4 separate regions of the Homo sapiens genome follow, and all the other regions are linked to region 3. The links are contacts of gene promoters, found by promoter capture Hi-C in blood cells and fetal thymus (Javierre and others, 2016). All regions are on one chromosome and are shown on one strand. Each heading gives the region's core, a stretch centred on a gene start or on the middle of the fragment in contact. The rest is flanking DNA. Distances are from core to core; before and after follow the strand shown.

What was found. Contacts are between HindIII fragments. The CHiCAGO score rates a contact against its expected background, and 5 or more counts as called.
Region 1: a contact is called between the fragment with the promoter of POU3F2 here and the fragment with the promoter of MANEA in region 3, in 3 of 17 cell types (total B cells, non-activated CD4 T cells and naive CD8 T cells). The highest score is 11.5, in total B cells.
Region 2: a contact is called between the fragment with the promoter of PRDM13 here and the fragment with the promoter of MANEA in region 3, in 1 of 17 cell types (non-activated CD4 T cells). The highest score is 6.6, in non-activated CD4 T cells.
Region 4: a contact is called between a fragment that was not itself captured here and the fragment with the promoter of MANEA in region 3, in 1 of 17 cell types (fetal thymus). The highest score is 5.2, in fetal thymus.

Annotation. Positions count from the first base shown.
Region 1 is chr6:98,833,239-98,836,017 of GRCh38, forward strand. POU3F2 (POU class 3 homeobox 2) reads left to right here and starts at 1,336. Exons shown (of 1, transcript NM_005604.4): 1 at 1,336-2,779. The coding sequence starts at 1,636. RefSeq lists a silencer at 1,277-1,346 and enhancers at 1,985-2,054, 2,053-2,649, 2,650-2,779. The HindIII fragment of the contact is 14,703 bases long and covers 1-2,779 here.
Region 2 is chr6:99,605,583-99,608,282 of GRCh38, forward strand. PRDM13 (PR/SET domain 13) reads left to right here and starts at 1,251. Exons shown (of 4, transcript NM_021620.4): 1 at 1,251-1,596. The coding sequence starts at 1,453. The HindIII fragment of the contact is 6,161 bases long and covers 1-2,642 here.
Region 3 is chr6:95,576,087-95,578,879 of GRCh38, forward strand. It overlaps MANEA (mannosidase endo-alpha), which reads left to right and starts at 1,449. Exons shown (of 5, transcript NM_024641.4): 1 at 1,449-1,552. It overlaps MANEA-DT (MANEA divergent transcript), which reads right to left and starts at 1,365. Exons shown (of 3, transcript NR_104136.1): 1 at 1,007-1,365. RefSeq lists silencers at 1,189-1,268, 1,319-1,408, 1,689-1,748 and enhancers at 1,545-2,485, 1,949-2,048. The HindIII fragment of the contact is 3,606 bases long and covers 81-2,793 here.
Region 4 is chr6:99,421,627-99,424,326 of GRCh38, forward strand. The region is part of intron 1 of PNISR (PNN interacting serine and arginine rich protein); the gene reads right to left. Among named protein-coding and RNA genes, the nearest start is that of PNISR-AS1, 1.9 kb to the right of the region's middle. The HindIII fragment of the contact is 3,652 bases long and covers 1-2,700 here.

The DNA of each region.
Region 1 (2,779 bases), core at 86-2,585, 3.3 Mb after region 3:
GCGGCACCTGCTCTGGGCGGCTAAAGAACTGATGGCGCGACGCGCCCGCGCTCCGTAGAGCGGCGCTGCGGGTGCATGGTCCCATAGTCTTGCTCTGGAGTTCACTGCTGAAAGCTGAGCTGGGAGCTTGGCCAGGGAGCGCCAAAGACATAGACTAACCCCACCCGCTAGCGCCCACCGAAGTTACTGATTAGGAAGGTTCCCCTGGCATCAGCCCATTTGCTTCACACACTCTTCCTCCTTCCCAAGGGGCTAACGGAAAAGTTGCACCTACCAGCGGTAGGAGCACGGGGAATCGCGCACGCAGGCCCTCCGCGCGGCTTCCCGGAGCGGCCTTTGGCGACTGCGCCGCCCCTACAAGGCCGCACACCCCTCGCCAGCACTCCGGCAGCCTCGCACAAGACGGAGCCCACGCAGGCTTCTAGTTTTCTAAACCAAAAACTGCACGCGCCGGCGTGTGAATCTGACGGAGAGACTTTTAGAGTTTTGTTTGGTTTTCAGTTCAGACCGCTACGCTGTCAGAGCAAGCAACTCCGAGCCTTGATGGGAATGACTTACAAGCCGCGGTGCGGGCTGAGCCTGCCTCTCTCGGGGTTCTTTCCCCAAGGGAGTGGGAGACAATTGGGCCTGGAACCTAAAAGGAAGAGAGCCTGTGCTAGCCGCGGGGTAGAGGGGAAGGAGAAGAGCTTTGGGCCGAAGTGTCCGCACACCCTGGAGCAAGAGACACTTGTGCACTGAAATTCTAACCGTGGGATGCAAGGAGAGTTGAACAGGGGAACAGGTCTGGCTCTTGGCTCTAGGTTTAAGAGATACACACTGTGTGTGTGTCCCTAGGTGAATAAAAATCCGACTCCCGCTGGCTCGGTGCGACCCAGCTTTTCCCTTACCCCCTCCGTTTCCCCATCTTAAAGCCCTATTGGGAAACGAAAGTGGACACCACTGCCTCCCGCCCCCCACCCCAATCCAAGTCTTCCAAGTGTCTGTGGCCGATAAGAGCACCGGGACCGCCCCCCTGCCGGTCTTCTCTGCCTGGGAGACAGATGGGGGGCGGGGCCCATCCGAGAGAGGGCGGAGGAGGCCCCGGGTGAGGAAGAAGCGGGGGGGTGAGAACTGAGAGAATCTGAATCGGGAGGCGAAGGGGACGGGGAGGAGGGCTAGGAGGACTCCGAGCCCGGGGGAGGGGGAGGGAGTAGCTCTGCGCCAATCAGTGGCGCCGGCCTGGGAGGTTGCTAGCGGTATCCACGTAAATCAAAGGGCGCGGAGCCAATGGGAGGGGGCGGAGGGGGCGGGGCCCAGGCGCGTGCCGCTGCGAGCCGGCGCTGCCAAGAGAGCGGGAGAGAGCTGGAGAGAGCAGGGAGAGGGGGGAGCGCCGAGCTAGTCAGAGAGTGAGCGAGAGCGAGAAGGAGGGAGAGGAGGAGAAAGAGAGCGAGGGCGGGCGGGAGGCGGCGGCGGCGGCAGCAGCAGCAGTAATAGCAGGAGCAGCAACAGAAGGCGTCGGAGCGGGCGTCGGAGCTGCCCGCTGTGGGAGAGAGAGGAGACAGAAAGAGCGAGCGAGGAGAGGGAGCCCGAGGCGAAAAAGTAACTGTCAAATGCGCGGCTCCTTTAACCGGAGCGCTCAGTCCGGCTCCGAGAGTCATGGCGACCGCAGCGTCTAACCACTACAGCCTGCTCACCTCCAGCGCCTCCATCGTGCACGCCGAGCCGCCCGGCGGCATGCAGCAGGGCGCGGGGGGCTACCGCGAAGCGCAGAGCCTGGTGCAGGGCGACTACGGCGCTCTGCAGAGCAACGGACACCCGCTCAGCCACGCTCACCAGTGGATCACCGCGCTGTCCCACGGCGGCGGCGGCGGGGGCGGTGGCGGCGGCGGGGGGGGCGGGGGCGGCGGCGGGGGCGGCGGCGACGGCTCCCCGTGGTCCACCAGCCCCCTGGGCCAGCCGGACATCAAGCCCTCGGTGGTGGTGCAGCAGGGCGGCCGCGGAGACGAGCTGCACGGGCCAGGCGCCCTGCAGCAGCAGCATCAGCAGCAGCAACAGCAACAGCAGCAGCAACAGCAGCAACAGCAGCAGCAGCAGCAGCAACAGCGGCCGCCGCATCTGGTGCACCACGCCGCTAACCACCACCCGGGACCCGGGGCATGGCGGAGCGCGGCGGCTGCAGCGCACCTCCCACCCTCCATGGGAGCGTCCAACGGCGGCTTGCTCTACTCGCAGCCCAGCTTCACGGTGAACGGCATGCTGGGCGCCGGCGGGCAGCCGGCCGGTCTGCACCACCACGGCCTGCGGGACGCGCACGACGAGCCACACCATGCCGACCACCACCCGCACCCGCACTCGCACCCACACCAGCAGCCGCCGCCCCCGCCGCCCCCGCAGGGTCCGCCTGGCCACCCAGGCGCGCACCACGACCCGCACTCGGACGAGGACACGCCGACCTCGGACGACCTGGAGCAGTTCGCCAAGCAGTTCAAGCAGCGGCGGATCAAACTGGGATTTACCCAAGCGGACGTGGGGCTGGCTCTGGGCACCCTGTATGGCAACGTGTTCTCGCAGACCACCATCTGCAGGTTTGAGGCCCTGCAGCTGAGCTTCAAGAACATGTGCAAGCTGAAGCCTTTGTTGAACAAGTGGTTGGAGGAGGCGGACTCGTCCTCGGGCAGCCCCACGAGCATAGACAAGATCGCAGCGCAAGGGCGCAAGCGGAAAAAGCGGACCTCCATCGAGGTGAGCGTCAAGGGGGCTCTGGAGAGCCATTTCCTCAAATGCCCCAAGCCCTCGGCCC
Region 2 (2,700 bases), core at 1-2,500, 4.0 Mb after region 3:
ACCACTCAGGCCTCTCTTGGAAGAACTGCATCGGGCTCCGGTGCTGGCTGCATAGGATTTGGGGAGCTGTGCTCAGAACTAGCAGCACGCGGCAGGTGCCGGCAGAAATCACAAATATCTGATGAACTTGATTACTTGGCTACTATTTATGAAAATAAATGTTCTCACGCCAATTGGAGGCTTCCCTAAAAGAAAACGGGTAGCTCTCCGGTTTAACTCTGAAGTACAACGTCTTGTTAGTTCACAAAGTAGGTGTAAGAAAGAGTTGTCCCAAACGCCCACCTCGCCCCTCTTCTCTACAACCTTTAACAGATTGCGGTGATTTTCGTTTTTGTTTACTGTTTTTTTTTTAATAGAAAAGTCCAGGTTGCTGGTTTTAGGGAAGTTAGTCCAAGGACATCTTCTAGGGGACGTGATCAATAACCCACTGGTAGAACTTCTTCCTCTTCAACCCTGGGCTGCGGACCGGGGCGCAGGATCCCCATTCGAAACTGTTGGTTCTGGGGCTGTTTCCCATTCTCCAGAGAAAGTGCAGGCCCGGGGTGTGCCCGAGAAAAGTGATGAGCAGTTGACCTCCCCTTCTCAACTTGGTCTGGAGGCTTCATCATATTTTCGGACGAAATGGGACAGAAGTGAGAATTAAAGCGGTTCTGAATAGACGACTGGCCTGAACCCAATCCCCTGAAATGGTAATATGGTTGTTATTTAAAAAGTGTAGGTATTTTCTGGTGTTTTCCCATCAAGTACCTGCCTAATTTCTGTATGGCACACGCCAGAAATCAATAGTAGTTAACAAGTCCTCCAAACAGTCTCCATCTCTTTGTTTAATCTCCTTTACAATAAAGCCAAGGGGAGAGAATTAAAAATCTTTGAAGTAGATCAAGGCTCAAAGGAATCAGCCAAGTAGACTTAAAGTAGTCACTTATTTCCCAAAACTGGTTTGTCGGGGAACAATAAAAGGAAGTAAAATTTATGGAGAAATTATACAGTGGATTTGTCACTTAAAATATCGTAACTGTCTGGAGGACAATACCCCATGCTGAGGATTAATGGTCCCGCCGGACCTTTGATTCACCAGTGCCTTTTCTTCGCCCTTGACAAATTGGATTTTTAGGAATGGGAAGGTCGCCTGGACCATTGTGTGCTAGCCATTCAGCGGCCTCGATTATGCAGGGGGCTGAGGGAACCACTCCATGTGACCCTCTCGGGTGGGACTCTGCAGCTGCTTCGCAGCGCAACTCTCTCACCAAACTCCGCGCCCTTGCGCTAGCGGTGCCAAAAGGCTCCCGCCCCGATTGAAAAGGCGCAGTGCATGCCCGCCCGCGTCACTCCGCGGGCGGAGGACGCACGTCGGGGCGCGGCTCTCTGGCTAGCGCGCAGCTCCAGCTCTGTCACTCGCGCCCTTCCAAGGACCTGGAGCACCCGAGCGCCTGCCTGGTGGCGGCGGCAACAATGCACGGAGCCGCCAGAGCGCCAGCCACCAGCGTGAGTGCCGACTGCTGCATCCCGGCCGGCTTGCGCCTCGGACCGGTGCCTGGTACCTTCAAGCTGGGCAAGTACCTGTCAGACCGCAGGGAGCCCGGGCCTAAGAAAAAGGTATTGACCATTCAGACCTCTGCCCACTGCCATTCGCCTCTCAGTGCCCTGACCCGGGAAAGGGGTACGAGAGAAAGTGGAGGAAGGGAGTGATTGAGTCGTTACCTGCTAATTCTGCCGGGTGGAAGGGGACTCCTATTATTCTGAGCAAGTAGCCTCTTTAACTGTGAGAGCTGGACGGGGTCGGGCTGAGAGGAGAGGATGTGGCCGAGAGGCGACAGCCCTGGGTGGGGTGCACTGAGCGCTGTAGGTGCCGGGACCATTCGCAGCTTGTGTTTTCCCCTGCGCTCTCGGGTCTCCTCAGTCAGAAGCCAGAAGCCCACCCCCGCACGCTGTCCGCAGCTCTCTCTGCAAAAGCACCCTCTTTCTGGGGGCTCAGGGCATCGAGACCCTTTCTTCCCTTCTGCCCTTCAATATGTTAATTTGAGGCCTAATTTCGCCTTAAAGTAATTTTTTTTCCTGAAAAAAAAAATCTTTGGGAGGCTCTCAGTTCCTAGAACCTCCTCAGATATTTTTTTTTCCCTTGCCGATGTCGGCTTGTGGGTATGCGGCATATGGAGAGAGGATGAGCAAGGTACTGGCTCTGACGCGGGCTCCAAGGGCGAGGCGCGCCCATTCGCGCGGGGCACAGGGTCAGAGCGTCTGCAGCGGGGCTCTGAGAGTCCAGAGGCCCAACCGGGAGGCGCCAGGGCCAAACCACTAGCTTTGACTCCCACACTCCACACACCGTCGCGACCCCTGACCAGAGAGACTTATAGCACTCGCCCGCTTTGGGGGCGTCCCAGGAGCCAAAGGTCGGCAAACAGCGACCGGGAAATGAAGGCAGAAGTCTGGGGTAGAAGAAAGGACTTTGGCTTCCTTGGCTTTAGCTTGCCTTGCTTGGAGCTTTCTAGTAAAAAGCTCCGGTGTCCAGCCAGCGGGACTTGCACCTCGCTCCTCCTGCAATCACGCCCCCCACTACAGTCTAAAGCGGGGTTTGGTGCCCACCGCGCATTCCTCTTTAAACGCGTTTTAATTGCTTTTAAATGGCCTGCCAGCTGCGGGCAAGCTTTTCCCCGCTTGGGCTTTGTTCCGAGACTTTAGCTGCAGGGCTCACAGGCAACT
Region 3 (2,793 bases), core at 199-2,698:
CTTGTAAGCAAGAAAGCAAAAAGCACAAAATTAAAATGTAAAATATTATTAAATTCAAAAAGCTGTATACTGAAGCATAAAGCTTTTGGCAATCAAGAAACATCATAAAAACTGGAAAGACAGTCCATAAACTAAGAGAAGACATTTGCAACACATGTAACTTACAAGAGAGAATTAAACTAGAAAAAATAAATATTATCTACAAAATAATTTTCAAAAGCAAGCAATTTAATAAAAAATGAGATAAAATTAAGAACAGGCTTTAGCAAAAGGGAAAATGCAAATTAAAAGAGCAATCAGATGCTCTTATCAGCAAAAACTTAAAAAGTCTAACAATAGCATAAGGGTAACGATGTGCCAGTCTAGTTTATGGGAAATGGACTTGTATACAGACGAATCTCAAAACCTCTCAAAACCTAAATTAGTGAAAAAAGGGGAAAAATGAAGAATGATTCACATATGAAATATAAAACTAGGAAAATAGTATTTTTAGGGAATCGTACATATGTAACTATTTTCAGAAATACAACGGAATGAGTAATATAAAATTCAGCATAATGGTGAACGGAAGGAAGGAGATGTTTTTAGAGAGTCTTCTTTCTAGAAGACTCCAAAAATACTGGCATTTTTTTTTTCTTAAGCTCTGTAGTGGGTACCTGGGCATTTTTCATTCTTCTTTAAGATATGCACATGAGATATACTCATATGTATATTTCCCAATTAAAATTGGTGTACAAAATCTTTTTAAGGAGAGCCCTTATGAAACTGTTCACATCAGCAAGTTCTAGCTTGAATAAGGACTTCCTGTTACTATGTAACCAAACAAAAGATAGCATTTTCTTGTTTTCTGAAGCTAATGTAAGATGGAAACCTTCAGTTGTAATCCTATTTCAAAAGTTCTTGCTCTTCACATCTGACTTATCCTCAATTATTTCTAGTACTTCAGTACAGATGTGATTTTATAGAATACATTCGCAAATTAAAAACGCCATCTCCATCTGCCTACCTTGGGCTTCCAAGTAAAGTTCTATTTTTACAAAAATCAAAACAGTTCCTCAACTTTAAAAGTTTGAAAACCAGTGTACTTGTAAAGCACTTGATGCAAGCAACTTCTGAATGTTTCACATAAAAACAAACAAAAATGTGTCCTCTGTAATACAGTTAGAGCCTCCCAACAGAGCCTCAGAAGACCGTTTCTAAAGGCAGTGAGTTCTACTTGCAGAAATAGGGCGGGAGTGCAGTCTGACTCCAATCCACACGTCCTTCCCCTCTGACAGAACGCCCCAAAACGCAGTCCTCTCTTTCTTCCGCGCCGCTCCCGCCCTAGTCCTCTTAGACCCGCGACCGGAGGCTCCGGAAGACCCCGAGCCCCGCCCGCTCCGTGACCCCGCCCCCACCCGTCCCGCCCCTGAAAGCGCCCGGAACGCTGTGCGCGCGCCTTCGGGGAGGAGGGGCTGTCTGGGCTCGGGGCGCGGCGGCAGTCAGCTCTATGTTCGCGGTCTTAACCTCTCCTCTGGCCGAGTCCTTGCAAGAAGTGAATTACCCGACCCTGGTGAGTAGCTGCAGGAGTCAGACCTCTTGGAGGCGGCGGCGCCAGCAGCGGCGGCAGGCACGAGGTCCACCGCGGGCGCCTGCGCGCTCGCCCGCCAGCCAATCTGGTGGCCGCTTTCCTCCGGGCGCCCTTTGACCCGGCGCCCCTCTGGCAGGCGCTGGTGGCGCCCAGCGGCGAGCCTGTAGCCCCCTCGATTAACCTAGGCTGTCACTCTTAGGCCTGTTTTAGTCTGCGTTAGTTTTACTGCCTTTTACACTGCTTTATCCCCACCTCACTGGCCTCGTCGCCGCCTCCTCTTTGAAACGGTACCTCCTGTCGCCTCGGATTTTCCTTGTCTCCCCGACAAGGTGGAAATTTCGGGTCGGATGGAAGCCTTTTTCAGCACCTTCTCCTTGTGCCCCCAGACTGCCTCTGGGCCTTGAGCCGACCGGGAGAGTAGAAGGATCGAGGCCTGCTGGGCTCTGGGTGCAACGGAAAGGTAGCTGTCGCCTCTGGGCATCGGGAGGAGACCGCCCGATGGCGAGGCCGCTAGAGATGGTTTTTCAGTTCACCTGTTAACGTGTTTGGCACTGTCATCTTAGACTCTTAGCCTTTGCTAAGTCGGGATGCAACAGTGCTGGATTAGTGTTTTTGTTGTTCCTTTTTCCAAAGAAGCAACTTGAAGTACAGGCAGGTATAACTGTTTGGTTTTGTTGTTGTAAGACCCTACGGATAAGTGTTAGGAGAAAATGTGGAAGTGCTATAAAACAACAACAAGGGGGGGATAATGTTGATTAAGAACTTGAAAATAAGAAAAATGGGACTGGAATAGGCTGTTCACGTTAAAGTATTGAGGCAGTAGTTTGAAACAAAAATATAAAGTAAAACCTAGATATTGGTGATACTGTATCACGTTGTTTGCAAATCACTTTCATGACAATACATCTATTTCAGGTGTATCACACCTGAAAAAAACATGAGTGCTGTGAATTTGTGGATTTTCAGGCTCAATGCAGAAAAACACCCCCCAAAACAAAAAATCACAACAATGAAAACACCATTTCCAGAGCTGTTGCTGTTATTCGTGTGACGAATAGTGAATGTATGATCATAAAATAGAATAAGCTGTCTTTAGATGAAGTTTGGGCACAGTTTATGGAGTAGGTAACAGTTAATCATTGTTTATTAGGTACATAATCCTTAATTGAAAACATAACCATATAGCAGCAGCTTTCATCTTGTGTCACAAAAATAACTGGTGT
Region 4 (2,700 bases), core at 46-2,545, 3.8 Mb after region 3:
CCCTACAAAGCCATTAGAGAGCATGCCCTACCAAAACCTCAATTTTACACTGTTAGCCTTCAGAACTGTGGAAGAATAAATTTCTGTTGTTTGAAATCAGCCAGTTTGTGGTAATTTGCTACAATATCCCTAGAAAACTAATACAACCAGAAATGGCCATCATCTATTTTATCCTTTTCTTAAATGTATCTATATTAGAACTTCATCGCTTTGAGGTCCTAAAACAACTTGTTTAAATGACAATCATTTATTTATTATTGAGAAATTCTCACTCTGTCGCCCAGGCTGGAATGCAGCAGTGTGATCTCGGCTTACGGCAACCTCCACCTCCCAGGTTCAAGCAATTCTCATGCCTCAGCCTCCCGAGTAGCTGGGACTACAGGTGCATGCCACCGCGCGAGGATAATGTTTGTATTTTTTAGTAGGGATGGAGTTTCACCATGTTGCCCAGGCTATCCTCAAACTTCTGGCCTCAATGATCCATCCTCCTCAGCCTCCCAAAGTGCTGGGACTACAGGCATGAGCCACCCCGTGTGGCCAAAATGACAATCATTAATATTTACAAAAGTCACTCAGAGACTGTGACAGAGATGGATGAGAATTAAAATGTGGTATTTTAAAGTCCTTGAGCATCAACTACAAAATCAAAGAGCTACAGAAACACATCTATCATTTGATGCATAGGATGAAATATTTCTCAAATCAACCACAAAGCTGAGAAGCCAGAAAATACAACAATCCTCTTCACCCCTGACATTTCAGTCTTACATGAGTTGACTGACCTCAAAGTCAAAAAAGAATTTATTTGTTTAATTCAGATTAGGTGGAAATGGCACTGGTAAAAATTAATCTTGTAATCATTCGAAATACGGAAAACAGAAATTTTGCTACTTTATGTGACATGCATTTTAGTATATACTGAAATACTTGCAGCTTGTAGCTCAAAAGACTATTTTAAAAGTGGAGGACAAGCATGGCGGCTCATGCCTGTAAACCCAGCACTTTGGCAGGCCAAGGTGGGTTCATCACTTGAGGCCAGGAATTCGAGACCAGCCTGGCCAACATGGCGAAACCTCCACTCTACTGAAAATACAGAAATTAGCTGGGCATGGTGGCATATACCTGTAGTCCCAGCTACTTAGCAGGCTGAGGCAGGAGAATCACTTGAACCCGGGAGGCAGGGGTTGCAATGAGCCAAGATTGTGCCACCACTGCACTCCGGTCTGGGAAACAGAGTGACACTCTGTCTCAAAAAAAAAAAAAAAAAAAAAAACTGGAGAATTGGAGAGTCGGTTATAAATACCCCCCCAATAATAATTTAAAAATAAATGTAGCGAGAGCGCCCAAAATGACACCCTAGTAGCAACAAGCACACCTAGGCACGAGAACTTGGTTTTAATACCATTCTTCAATAAAAGGAATCAGAGATCTTTAAAGAAATAGCTGACTCTAGGACTGCGACAGGAAATATAAAAGATGAGTCTGGGGCATGTATACTGCCAGGAAGCAATAAAGTGCTAAAAAAAAAAAAATTGATAGGAACATGTCAAAGGAGAACAGTAGACAACTCGAAGAGCTGCCAATGGCCAAAGCTGGTACAATTTGAGCAACAAAATAAAGAAGTACTGGATTATAATATAAGTTATGTAATAAACATCCACAAGCCCATAAGGATATGATAAAATAAACTAACAAATAAATGTGAGGGAAGACACAAATCTCCCACAGAGAATTCCAAATAAATTATGTAAATATTCCACCCTAACTGAGGAAGAGCACAACTGTCCATTCAGTAAGCGTGGGCTCTGCAAAGTGACTTCCTTCCAAAGAGAACAGTATAAAAAGGGGTGGGGGAAGTAACTTTACAGTGGATAAATCTAACAAACGCTACTCCAGAAGGATGATCAAGGTCAGTAATAATGTGATAAGTCACCTTGATAGTATGTATCCTTGATAGCATGTGTTGAAAAGGGCATCTTACCTCTGTGATCTTCCCCTGATATAGTCCGTAAGGCCATTTTAATCATGAGAAAATCGTCTGGCAAATTCCAATAGCAGGGCACCCTACAATATACCTGACCATACTCCTCAAAAAATGTCAAGGTCACTGTATTAGTTTGGTATGCTTGCCATAACAAAGTACCAAAGACTGGGTGGCTTAAGCAACAGAAATTTATTTCCTCACTGTTCTGGAGGCGTATAGTGTAAGCTCTATGGGGTTGATTTCATTCTAAGGCCTCTCTCCTTGGCTTGTGGATGGTTGTCTTCTCCCTATGTCTTCACATGATCATCCCTCTGTATCCTACTCTCTTCTTATAAGGACAGCAGTTATTAATATATTGGGCTAAGGTCCACCCTAGTGACCTCATCTTCTTTAAAGACCCTCTCTCCAAATACAGTCACGTTCTGGGGTACTGAGGTTAGGACTTCAAGATACGAATTTTAGAGGGGCACAAGTCAGCCCTTAACAGTCATCAAAAACTAGTTAAGCCTGAGAAACTGTCACAGCCAAGAATATACAGCCTAAGAATATACAACAACTAAATGTAATGTGATATCCTAGCTGGCATCCTGGAACAGAAAAAGGACTTTAGGTAAAATGTGAGGAAGTAGGAATAAACTATGGACCTTAGTTAATAATTTATCATTATTGGTTCATTAGTTGCAACAAATGTACCATACTAACATCTATTAATAAGA